Regions from separate parts of the Homo sapiens genome. Here region 2 is linked to region 1. Evidence: promoter capture Hi-C in 16 types of primary human blood cells and fetal thymus (Javierre and others, 2016). All regions are on one chromosome and are shown on one strand. The core of a region is centred on a gene start or on the middle of the fragment in contact, and the rest is flanking DNA. Distances in the headings are between cores, read along the strand shown. Region 1 holds the start of NFX1 (nuclear transcription factor, X-box binding 1). Region 2 holds the start of CAAP1 (caspase activity and apoptosis inhibitor 1).

Region 1 (5,035 bases), core at 1,095-3,594:
TCGCTTGCTTGAAAAAGCGAGACTGGAAAGAGGGGCAGAAATAAGATCAGTAAAGATGTCTAGAGAAGCCTAGTAAAGGATAGGAAAAGAGTGTTTCTCGTTAAGCAGTAATGAGTTGATGCAACTAGAGAATCCAGAGAAGGCTGCATGTACTCATATACAGGATATGTTCAACTAGACATGAGGCAGCAGGCAAAGCCCTCAGGAAAAAAACCCATAAGAGACATGAGGAAGGGAAACAGGACACATTGATCAGGAAACTGGCCATGGCAAAGATCAGAGGCACCATTTTTATTTCACTATTTCAAGTAGCTGGAAGTTAGTAAACAGGATGTCTAGTCACCACGGCTAGAATACAAGTGGTACCCTAAATCCAAGATAACACAGCAGCACAGTAGGTGTCCAACAGGTGGGAAAGGCAGACTAAAGGGAAATCCAACTGGCAGATTACAAAGTCCAGAGACAAGGCTGGCATTGCAGAGTCTGCTCACCGGCAGAAAAGTATCCTCTGCACTGGGCTTCTGTTTAAAGACTTTGATGATGAGGGTGTGGGCTAAAGATGATGCTAAAATACGAACATGGAATGGGAACTAAAGCAAAATCAAACTAAAGCACATGAAAAGGAGTAAGGAGGTCTTTGGACTAGAAGATTTTGCCTCATTAGATACTTTCTGGGTTGGAGGTAATAACTTGGGCACAACACCAAAGTTCAACACGAAGACTCACAACTAGGCCCCACCGAATTCTTCTTCAAACACTGAAGGGTACAGAAATGAGTCAGAAACGAGCCTGTGGATGAGACGATCAATAGATCCAGTTTAGAGAATCTGGTGAAGGACTAGGTGAGGAGAATAACAAAATACCCAGCCCAAAAAGTTTTCCAACCCCAAGGAAGACTTAATATCCACATCAAGACTAGGGTACACCAATGCAGTGTGTTTTCCAACTTTTTTTTTTGAGACGAAGTCACACTCTGTCGCCCAGGCTGGAGTGCAGTGGCACGATCTTGGCTCACTGCAACTTCCGCCTCCAGGGTTCAAGCAATTCTCTTGCCTCAGCCTCCGGAGTAGCTGGGACTACAGGCGCGTGCCACCATGCCCAGCTAATTTTTTGTATTTTTAGTAGAGACGGGGTTTCACCGTGTTAGCCAGGATGGTCTCGATCTCCTGACCTCGTGATCCGTCCACCTCGGCCTCCCAAAGTGCTAGGATTACAGGCGTGAGCCACCACGCCCGGCCCTAACTTTTTAAACTAAGAACCATAGTAATAAATACATTTTACCTGCCACCCAGTATACAAATACATATATGGTCTTCTTGGTGCCCCAACGGCTGGTCAGGGACAGAGCTGAGATTCAAACCAATGGTTTCCAAACTCCATTCTGCAAACTGCTGCCCTGTTTTCCAGAGTGGGCCATAAAATCAAATGAAGGCAGTGGGCTGTGACATATTTTTAAACGAAACAGAAAACAGAATATATTGCTGATTGTAAAACAAACCAACCAACCTCACTGCTTCCAGAAACTTCTGGTTCGCTTTTATATTTATGTAAGTGTACAATATTTAAGGTCGCGATGCAAAATGTTTCTTTTGGTTGCTGTCCAACACATTTGGAAAACACTGATCTATGGAACACCCTGAGGAAATGGATGTTATATCAACGAACAAATGAGGCTGTCTCTACACACTGAGGCAACTCCAGGAGGGGGAGTGAGTGAACAATTACAGAATAGGTACAGTACAGGGCGGGAGCCATCACAGGAATTAACTTATCTACTCCCAACTGACAGATGAGGAGACTGAGACTGAGTCACACGGGGTTCGCAGCAGGCTGAGACTCTAAACTACTGGAATTCGGCTCGCGCCCACGCCACCACTCCAGGCGGTATGAGCACACCACACCCTACACGTCAAGAGCCCGCCACCGTCACTGGCTGTGACCTGGCCGACGCCCGCCTGTCGAAGGTCAGTGCGCCGCTGCCCCAGAAACAGCCTGTGGGAAGGCAGGGCACCCACATCGACTCGCAGCGCCGGGACAAGTCCTCTCTCCTCCGAAACCCAGCTACTGGGCTTCACCATCTAGTCCAAGAAGACACAGATCTTCGTACGCACGATGCGCGGGGCTTGGCCCTTCCGAGCCACTATCCTACGCCCTAGCATGTGCTACTCTCGCGATATGAGTGGCTGAGGCCCTAGAACTTCGTCACTGACCCAATTTCCGCTCCCTGAAAGGGGCCCAGTCCCGCTCGGGCCGGGACAATACCTGAGACAGGAGGCGCCTCCGCCATCCCGTGCCGCAGAACCTAGATCGAGCTGTACAGCCAAGTCAGCACTGTCACCAGGTCACGTGCCCCGGACTTCCGGCGCCGCGAGAATATTCGCATCTGCGCGCCGTGTAGACGGCCACAGAGGTTGCGCAGCCCGAATCTGTGTGGCGCGTTCGTGACGTCAGATAGACGCGCCAGGTGTCGGGCGGGAGGAGGAGACTAGTAGCTGGATGGAAATAGCAACAATCGCAGGAGGGAGGGCGGCGACTTGCGTAATCATTGTGGTTTTCCTTTTTTTATTTTTTGATATAGGGTCTTGCTGCCTTACCCAGGCTTGAGTGCAGTGGTCTGATCATGGCTCACTATAGCTTCAGTCTCTAATCCTCCCGCCTCAGCCTTCCGGTAGCTGGAACTACAGGCGGAGCCACCATGCGCAGCTATTTTTAGTAGAGACGGGTTTCGCCATGTTGCCCAGGCTAGTCTCTCCAACTCCTGGCCTCAAGCGATCCTGCCGCTTTGGCCTCCTAAAGTGCTTGGCTTACAGGCGAGCCACCACGCCTGGCTCCAGACTTTTTTTTTTTTTTTTTTTTTTACAAAGGCGTTTATTCTCATCAGTATCACCGATATTCTCATGGTTCACATTTGCCAACGCCGCTCCTCTCCTTACAGTAGTTAAATGTGCAATCTCACTTGGGGGCCCAGGGAGGGGTGGGGGCTCGGCCCAGGGTGGGGAGGGCGTTGGCACTTCACGTGGACAGGGTGGGCAGCCTGTCCTGCGTGAAAGAGGTGTGGGTGAGTGGGCGGCCAGGGAAGGGGAGTTGGCAGGGGAGGGCCCCGCAGTCTTTTTTTCTTTGGTGGTTGGTGATTCTCCATTCAGATTCCTTCCTGGCTTCCCAGGGTAGGGGAACCATGCAGCTCAGGGCAGGGCAGGGGAGGAAGAGAAGGAAAAAGCAGCAGGCCGCCCGGGGGGAAAGGTGGAGGGTGAACGGCAGGGCAAGGGGGAACGGGTGGCTCCTGAGGTAAGGCACAACCCTGTCTTTGGCTTTCCTGGTGAGGAGTTTCCTCCCCTGCACCCCCTGCCCGACGCTTCTCCCCACCCCCCCACCCCCCAGACCCACACACAGTCCCAGGAGCCAGGGGGCACCACCTCCTGGGGTCCCTGAAACAAGTGGGCTCTGCCACCCAAGCCAGTGCCGCAGGGGCTCGAGGAGGGACACCCGAGGAAAAGGCAGAGAGGGGCAGGCAGGGGCCTACCCAGGACAAGGGGGTGGGGGTGAGAAGACCCTAGGCCCAGGAGCTGGGCCCCCCGCCCCAACTAAGTCCTGGAAGTGGGGGAGCACCTGCTTCCTTTCGGGGGTCTGGCTGGAGCCCCGGTCTGCCCCTTGGCCTCCGTCAGGCCCAGCCACTTGCCAAGTGACCAGGGCATTGTGCTTTGGGGTAAACGCTGGGGTGGGGTGGCAGGCCAGGAGGCAGGGGGAGAGGAGGGATGACTAAGGTGCTTGTGCTTTAGCTGGGGGTGTCGATATCCCCCACTCGGGCCGGCTGGGGGCTAAGGTGCCAGGCCCCGGCCAGGAAGACAGTGCCAAGACCCCAGCAGACCGTGGCACTGACCCCCACAACAAGCAGATGTTAAGAGGGACCCCCAGTGGGCCAGCGGGGCTGCTGGTCCCATCAGGGGGATGGTCTTCAAATCAGATTACAAGGGTCCAGTAGGGGCTGGCCCCCACCCCATCTCCTGAAATCCCCCTGCCCCTGGAGAGACCCCTGGGAGCAGTAGGTAGGCGGGGGTTGGGGAGGCAGAGGAGAGGCAGGGAGGACGAGGGCCAGAAACGCAAACAAGGATGTGGATGGTGAAATGACACCCCGCATAGGGGGATGGGGAGTTAAAAAAGAAAAAAAACTCTCTGCCTTCACATGAAAATCTAAAACAACAACAAAAAACCACCCACTCTGGGCGAGAACAAAAAGAGAGGAATGGTAACAGAGAAAATTCTGCAAACAACTGCTAACAATGGAAGTGGACCCGGCCCTGCCCTGCCCTGCCCTGCCCAGCCCCCAGGAGCTGGGCCCAGCCAACCAGCCAAGGCCTGGGACACCCTGAAACTATAGCCCTGTTGGGGAAGGTGGACAGGGGAGGGGGAACCCGGTCGGACCCACAGGAGCCTAGGCAGCAGCTGGGACTGGAGTCCTACACCCACACTCCACACACACCCACACCCACACACACACACACACACACACTCAGCCTGCCCCCCAGCCCCCCAACACCACCCTGCCTTCCAAGGCCCCCCCACCCCTGGGGACCGAGGGGGACAACAGACACAGCCCCATTGGTTTGAAAAATAAAAGGAATCTTATCACTCTGTCGCCTAGGCTGGAGTGAAGTGGCACCATCTCGGCTCACTGCAAACTGCCTCCCGGGTTCAAGCGATTCTTGCGCCTCAGCCTCCCAAGTAGCTGGGATTACAGGCACCCACCACCACGCCCGGCTAATTTTTGTATTTTTAGTAGAGACGGGGTTTCATCCTGTTGGCCAGCTGGTCTTGAACTCCTGACCTCAGGTGATCCACCCACCTAGGCCTCCCAAAGTGTTGGGATTACAGGCGTGAGCCACCGTGCCGGGCCAAACATTTAATGATGGTCTTTTGAGTTTCCTCCTTTTAAAACTGCTTATCCATATCCACTGCCCATTTTTCTTCCTGATGGTTTCTTGTATATTACAGGTGTCACTCGTCAGTTTTAGACATTTAAATTGTCTTCTATTCCATT
Region 2 (5,035 bases), core at 693-3,192, 6.4 Mb after region 1:
TTAATTACCTCCTTAATGACCCTATCTCCAAATTCAGTCACATTGGGGTTAGGGATTCAACATATGAATTCTGTGGGTGATGTTATAGGACCATCAGGTTCTATTAACCACTACATGGTACCAGACCAATACATGGAAACAGCAGGAGTTGCAGCAGAGAAAGAGTTTAATAATGGTATGCCAGCCAAGGGAGAAGATGGGAGGGAACCTCAAATCACCTCCCCAGTAAGTTTTTGGACAGGGGTTTTTAAGGGAATTTTGGTGGGTAGGGGGCTGAGGAGCTAGGGGTTGCTGATTGGTTAGGGCATGGGGGATGTAATCATAAGGAGGTAGAAAGTGCATTCTTGTGCTGAGTTCGTTTCTCAGAAGGGGTCTTCAGACTGAGTAGCATCAGTGACCCCACTGATATGGTTCCAATGACTGGAGGAACACCACAGTCTTTTGTCTCGTGCTGGTTTAAATAAAACGATACAGACACAAGTGGAATTGTTTTAAGGAGCGGAGAATTTAATAGGCAAGAAAGAAGAGGCTCCCTCATACAGAACCAGAGGGAAGAGGGCTCCCAGATGAAAGAGGGAACCTTGGGTGCAGCAGACAAGAGCCAGTTATATTATGAGGCTGGAGGAGGTGGTGACTAATTTGCATATGACCCAGGGAATTGGTTTGACCAGGTATGTCATTCACGTAGCCTGCAAAAAAAGTGGCCCTCCCACCCTAGCCTTTTAATATGCGAATGTAGGGTGCCACAATGTTCTACACATGTGGGGATATGTGGGGATGGCCATGTTGCTAGGCACATGTGGGGACAAGAAGAAGAGGGGAATCGCCATACTGAGTAAACCCAGTTTCTAACGGCCTGCATTTGCATATCATAGCTTGCCAGCCCAGCTTTTTTGCTAGACAAGAAACATTTCTGGAGCTGCTTTAAAAGAAAAAAAACTTCCCAAAGACCCCTTTACCTCTCTATCTGCCTAAAATAATTTCTTAACTTCTGTAACACCATTGGAGTACAGAATCTGGTAAATATCTCAAAATGGAAAACTTGAGATTTCTTAACCGAGTCAAAGATATCTATAAAGCAATAAGCAGCTATAAGGAAGTGGGCTATAGGAAAAGTTGGTTAACGTTTAGCTATGCTTCTACTAAAAGCTTATCTTTTGTCACAAATCCAGCAATTTGGCAGGGCACGATGGCTCACGCCTGTAATCCCAGCACTTTGGGAGGCTGAGGCGGGTGGATCACCTGAGGTCGGGAGTTCGAGACCAGCCTGACCAACATGGAGAAACCCCTTGTCTACTAAAAATACAAAATTAGCCCTGCATGGTGGCGCATGCCTGTAGTCCCAGCTACTCAGGAGGCTGAGGCAGGAGAAATGCTTGAACCCGGGAGGCGGAGGTTGCAGTGAGCCGAGATTGTGCCATTGCACTCCAGCCTGGGCAACGAGAGTGAAACTCCGTCTCAAAAAAAAAAAAAAGAAAAAAGAAAAAATCTAGCAATTTAGTTTTATTAAAATTATGATGGTTTCAGGGACACAATTCATAACAGGTTTATAAATGTAACATGTTATTAATTTTATGTGTTTTTCCTATCTGTGAACACAACACTCTCAATCCTTTCAGGTATGACTCCAATGAGTGTGATACTTAACGGAACTCCTGGGAACACAGTGGGCTCAGCCCCAGGATTTACCTTACAAGGCCAATTTAAGAGTGGGGCCTGGGGGAAGACAGTTTTCCTAGGGCTGGAAGTGTCCCTATTTATTAACCCTAGGCTGGTTTTAGGCATTTAAGTAGTTGTTGAATGACTGAGACAAATAGGAGACAAAGAGAAGGGAAGCTTCTTTAATTGCTTCTTACCCCAGGGAAAGGCACAGAATTACTACCACCCAGCTAGCTTTGCCCCAGGCTCTACCTTTTTCCCTCAGTGGCTAAAGGCCCCTGCTGAAACGACAAAGACCTTGGTTCACGTTTTAAGTGTTCTAGCTCCCTTGTCTTAAAATCTGCCTTCTATTTAGATTACATCCACCCATAAAATCTCATAAAGCTTTGACCCATTCTCAATTTTCAAAAACGAACTCAAGCTCTACTTGTCCATGTCAGACTCTACGCAAGAAATACCTAATTTGCCCAGGTGATGAGGAAAATGAGATGGAACAACTTTTCCCTATTCTCTTTATTGTCATAGCGTTGTTAATATCTTAAGATTTGGAGGTAAACGGAAATGGAGAATCAGCAACTATACTTCAACCTTATTGTAAACAGACAAAACACTAACAATAAAAAGTTTTGAAGTTAAAAGGACGTAAGTTCCACCTTCTATCCTTTGTAGAGATATAAAAACAAAACAAAACAAACTCTGACTAGACAGGCTACCCGCTACACACTCAAATCGACCTCCGCGACCGGAGGGGGAAGCGCAACTGGTTATGGCAACCCCCCTGCCACCCCGGCCCATAACGCTTCACCACGTTCTGTGCCACGGCCGGAAGTGACGCATAACCTGCGACGCCAGTGCCTGCCGCCCACGGCCGCAGGAGTCGGGCTTCGGTCGCACCAGAGACAGCGGACTTTCCTCCGATGGTTGCAGCAGAGGGATCATGACGGGGAAAAAGTCCTCCCGGGAGAAACGGCGCAAACGTAGCAGTCAGGAGGCGGCCGCAGCGCTCGCGGCCCCGGACATCGTACCCGCGTTGGCCAGCGGCAGCAGTGGAAGCACTAGCGGCTGCGGGAGCGCCGGGGGCTGCGGGAGCGTCAGCTGCTGTGGGAACGCCAATTTTAGTGGAAGTGTCACCGGCGGTGGGAGCGGCGGCAGCTGTTGGGGCGGGAGCAGCGTGGAGCGCAGCGAGCGCCGGAAGCGGAGGAGTACCGACTCTTCCAGCGTCTCGGGCTCCTTGCAGCAGGTGCGTGCGCGCCCCTCTGGCCGCTTCCTGGAGCTGCTGCTTTTTCGGAAGAAGTCGGGCTTCCAGAGGGATGGGGCGCAGGCTGGAGCTCACTGCTAGCGCGGCAATCTCAAGGTCGTCCGTCCTTGAGGTTCATGTTCCTACCTAAGTCCTGGTGAGCCCCACACTCCCATCCGTGTCTTGAATCTTGAACTTCAAGTTTCTGGATTTCCTGATCACTTTTTTTTTAATTTATTTTTTAAACTCTTGGCTCCTTCCACTCCTATGGTTTCACTCTGCCGGAAGAATACGAGTTGGAAGCTAGCCTTCATTTCCCTTGCGAGCCAAACACTTCTCCCTTCGTCTTCACCTTTTCGTAGATATGGTTAACTCCGCATTAGAGATAAGAAAATTGAGGCCCAAAGAAGTTAAACTTTACCCACGGTCACAGAGTTTGTTAATAGCTCCTAGGTTTGAATCCAAATATCTGACTACAAAAGCCATGTTCTTTATACGCCACCAGTCTGCCAAGAGAACGCCGTTTTAAAAAAGTTCATAATTTGTTTGAAAACAAATGAATGAATAGGTACTTTAAATTCATTCAATGAGGAAATAAAGGGAAAGCGTCAAGTCCCTTTTCTTGCCCCTCCATTAGTATTTTGATACGCGGCCTCTTTTAATCACTCCTCGTGAGATACGTGTTTTTAAGTTCCTACACTTAAGCTGTATTGTGTTATTCCCGCTGTTGAATACCTGCATTGTTGTGATAGGCTTCTTTATATACGTGGTTTGTTATTTTTACTGACTGCCTGGTATTGTATTATATTTTTCTGATATTTGGGTGTGCAGGTTTTTTTGTATTGTTGTGACTACAATACAAACACCTTTATGTATATATCTCCTACAAGAGTTATGTTGGGAGAGAGTGTGAGAACTGAAATTCCTGGGTCAAAGTTTATGCTATTAAAAACTTATGAATGCCACCAAATGCTTTCCAAATGAGACTTTACAGATTTATAGTCCAAACAGTATATATATAAGAATACCTATTTCTGAGATTCTTAACTAGCTTTTGATGACATTTTGATGGCATTTTTTAAAAAAATTGCCAGACTAGTGGGTCAAATTAATAGTTTGTTTTAATTTTTATTTTCCTTATTAGTGAGATTGAACATTTTAATATTTTTATTTGCCATTTGATTTCTTCTTATGTAATTTTCTGTACATATCCTCTGCTCATTATTCTCTTTGGTAGAGTAGAAACAGTTTATGTAGAGATTTTATCAGGTGGTTTTCTGGCATTCTGTTGAGATGATCACATACTTTTTCTCCTTTAGTCAGATAATGTAATTTGTTGATAAGTTAGTTGATGTTGAACAGTCTTTGGAGTCTTGGGACAAGTGCTGTTTGGTTTGTTGAGTTTGTTGTACTTGGCTGGAATTCAGTATTTTTACTTTCATGTATGTGTTTCTTTTTTTTTGTTTTTTTTGAGACGGAGTCTCGCTCTGTTGCCCAGGCCGGAGTGCAGTGGCGTGATCCCGGCTCACTGCAAGCTCCGCCTCCCGGGTTCAGGCCATTCCCCTGCCTCAGCCTCCCGAGTAGCTGGGACTGCAGGCGCCCGCCACGACGCCCAGCTAATTTTTTGTATTTTCAGTAGAGACGGGGTTTCACCGTGTTAGCCAGGATGGTCTTGATCTCCTGACCTCGTGATCCACCCGTCTCGGCCTCCCAAAGTGCTGGGATTACAGGCGTGAGCCACCGTGCCCGGCCAACTTTTATGTATATGTTTCTAAATTAGATCAGACTGTAGTTTTTATTTTTGTAATGGATTGAATTAGGAAGCTTTGTGTTTTTTTGGTGTGTTCTAGAATGGTTTATATTTTCTTCTCAAATATTTGTCAGAAGTATCTGGGTCTAGTGGAGTTTTTTAGAGTGATTTTTTAAGACACTCTTTAAAAAAATTATTTAATATAGATCTATTCAGTTTTCCCACCCCTTCTAGATTCAGTTTTGGATATTACCATTCTTATTTTAAATAGTTTCCTTTTTTTTTTTCTTTTTTTGAGATAGGCTCTCACTGTGTCGCCCAGGCTGGAGTGCAGTGGCACCATCTCAGCCCACTGCAACCTCCGCCTGCCAGGTTCAAGTAATTGTCCT

Evidence for each region. Contacts are between HindIII fragments. The CHiCAGO score rates a contact against its expected background, and 5 or more counts as called.
Region 2: a fragment that was not itself captured here is called in contact with the fragment with the promoter of NFX1 in region 1 in 1 of 17 cell types (non-activated CD4 T cells); the score reaches 5.4 in non-activated CD4 T cells.

What each region holds. Positions count from the first base shown.
Region 1 is chr9:33,287,825-33,292,859 of GRCh38, reverse strand. It overlaps NFX1 (nuclear transcription factor, X-box binding 1), which reads right to left and starts at 2,344. Exons shown (of 24, transcript NM_002504.6): 1 at 2,263-2,344. The coding sequence starts at 2,287. It also overlaps the pseudogene LOC100862682. RefSeq lists enhancers at 2,069-2,118, 1,100-2,299, 2,269-2,318, 2,329-2,748, 3,454-4,415. The HindIII fragment of the contact is 6,050 bases long and covers 1-5,035 here.
Region 2 is chr9:26,890,277-26,895,311 of GRCh38, reverse strand. It overlaps CAAP1 (caspase activity and apoptosis inhibitor 1), which reads left to right and starts at 2,510. Exons shown (of 6, transcript NM_024828.4): 1 at 2,510-2,899. The coding sequence starts at 2,597. RefSeq lists enhancers at 2,281-2,350, 1,952-2,531, 2,481-2,700, 2,781-2,960, 2,532-3,111. The HindIII fragment of the contact is 207 bases long and covers 1,839-2,045 here.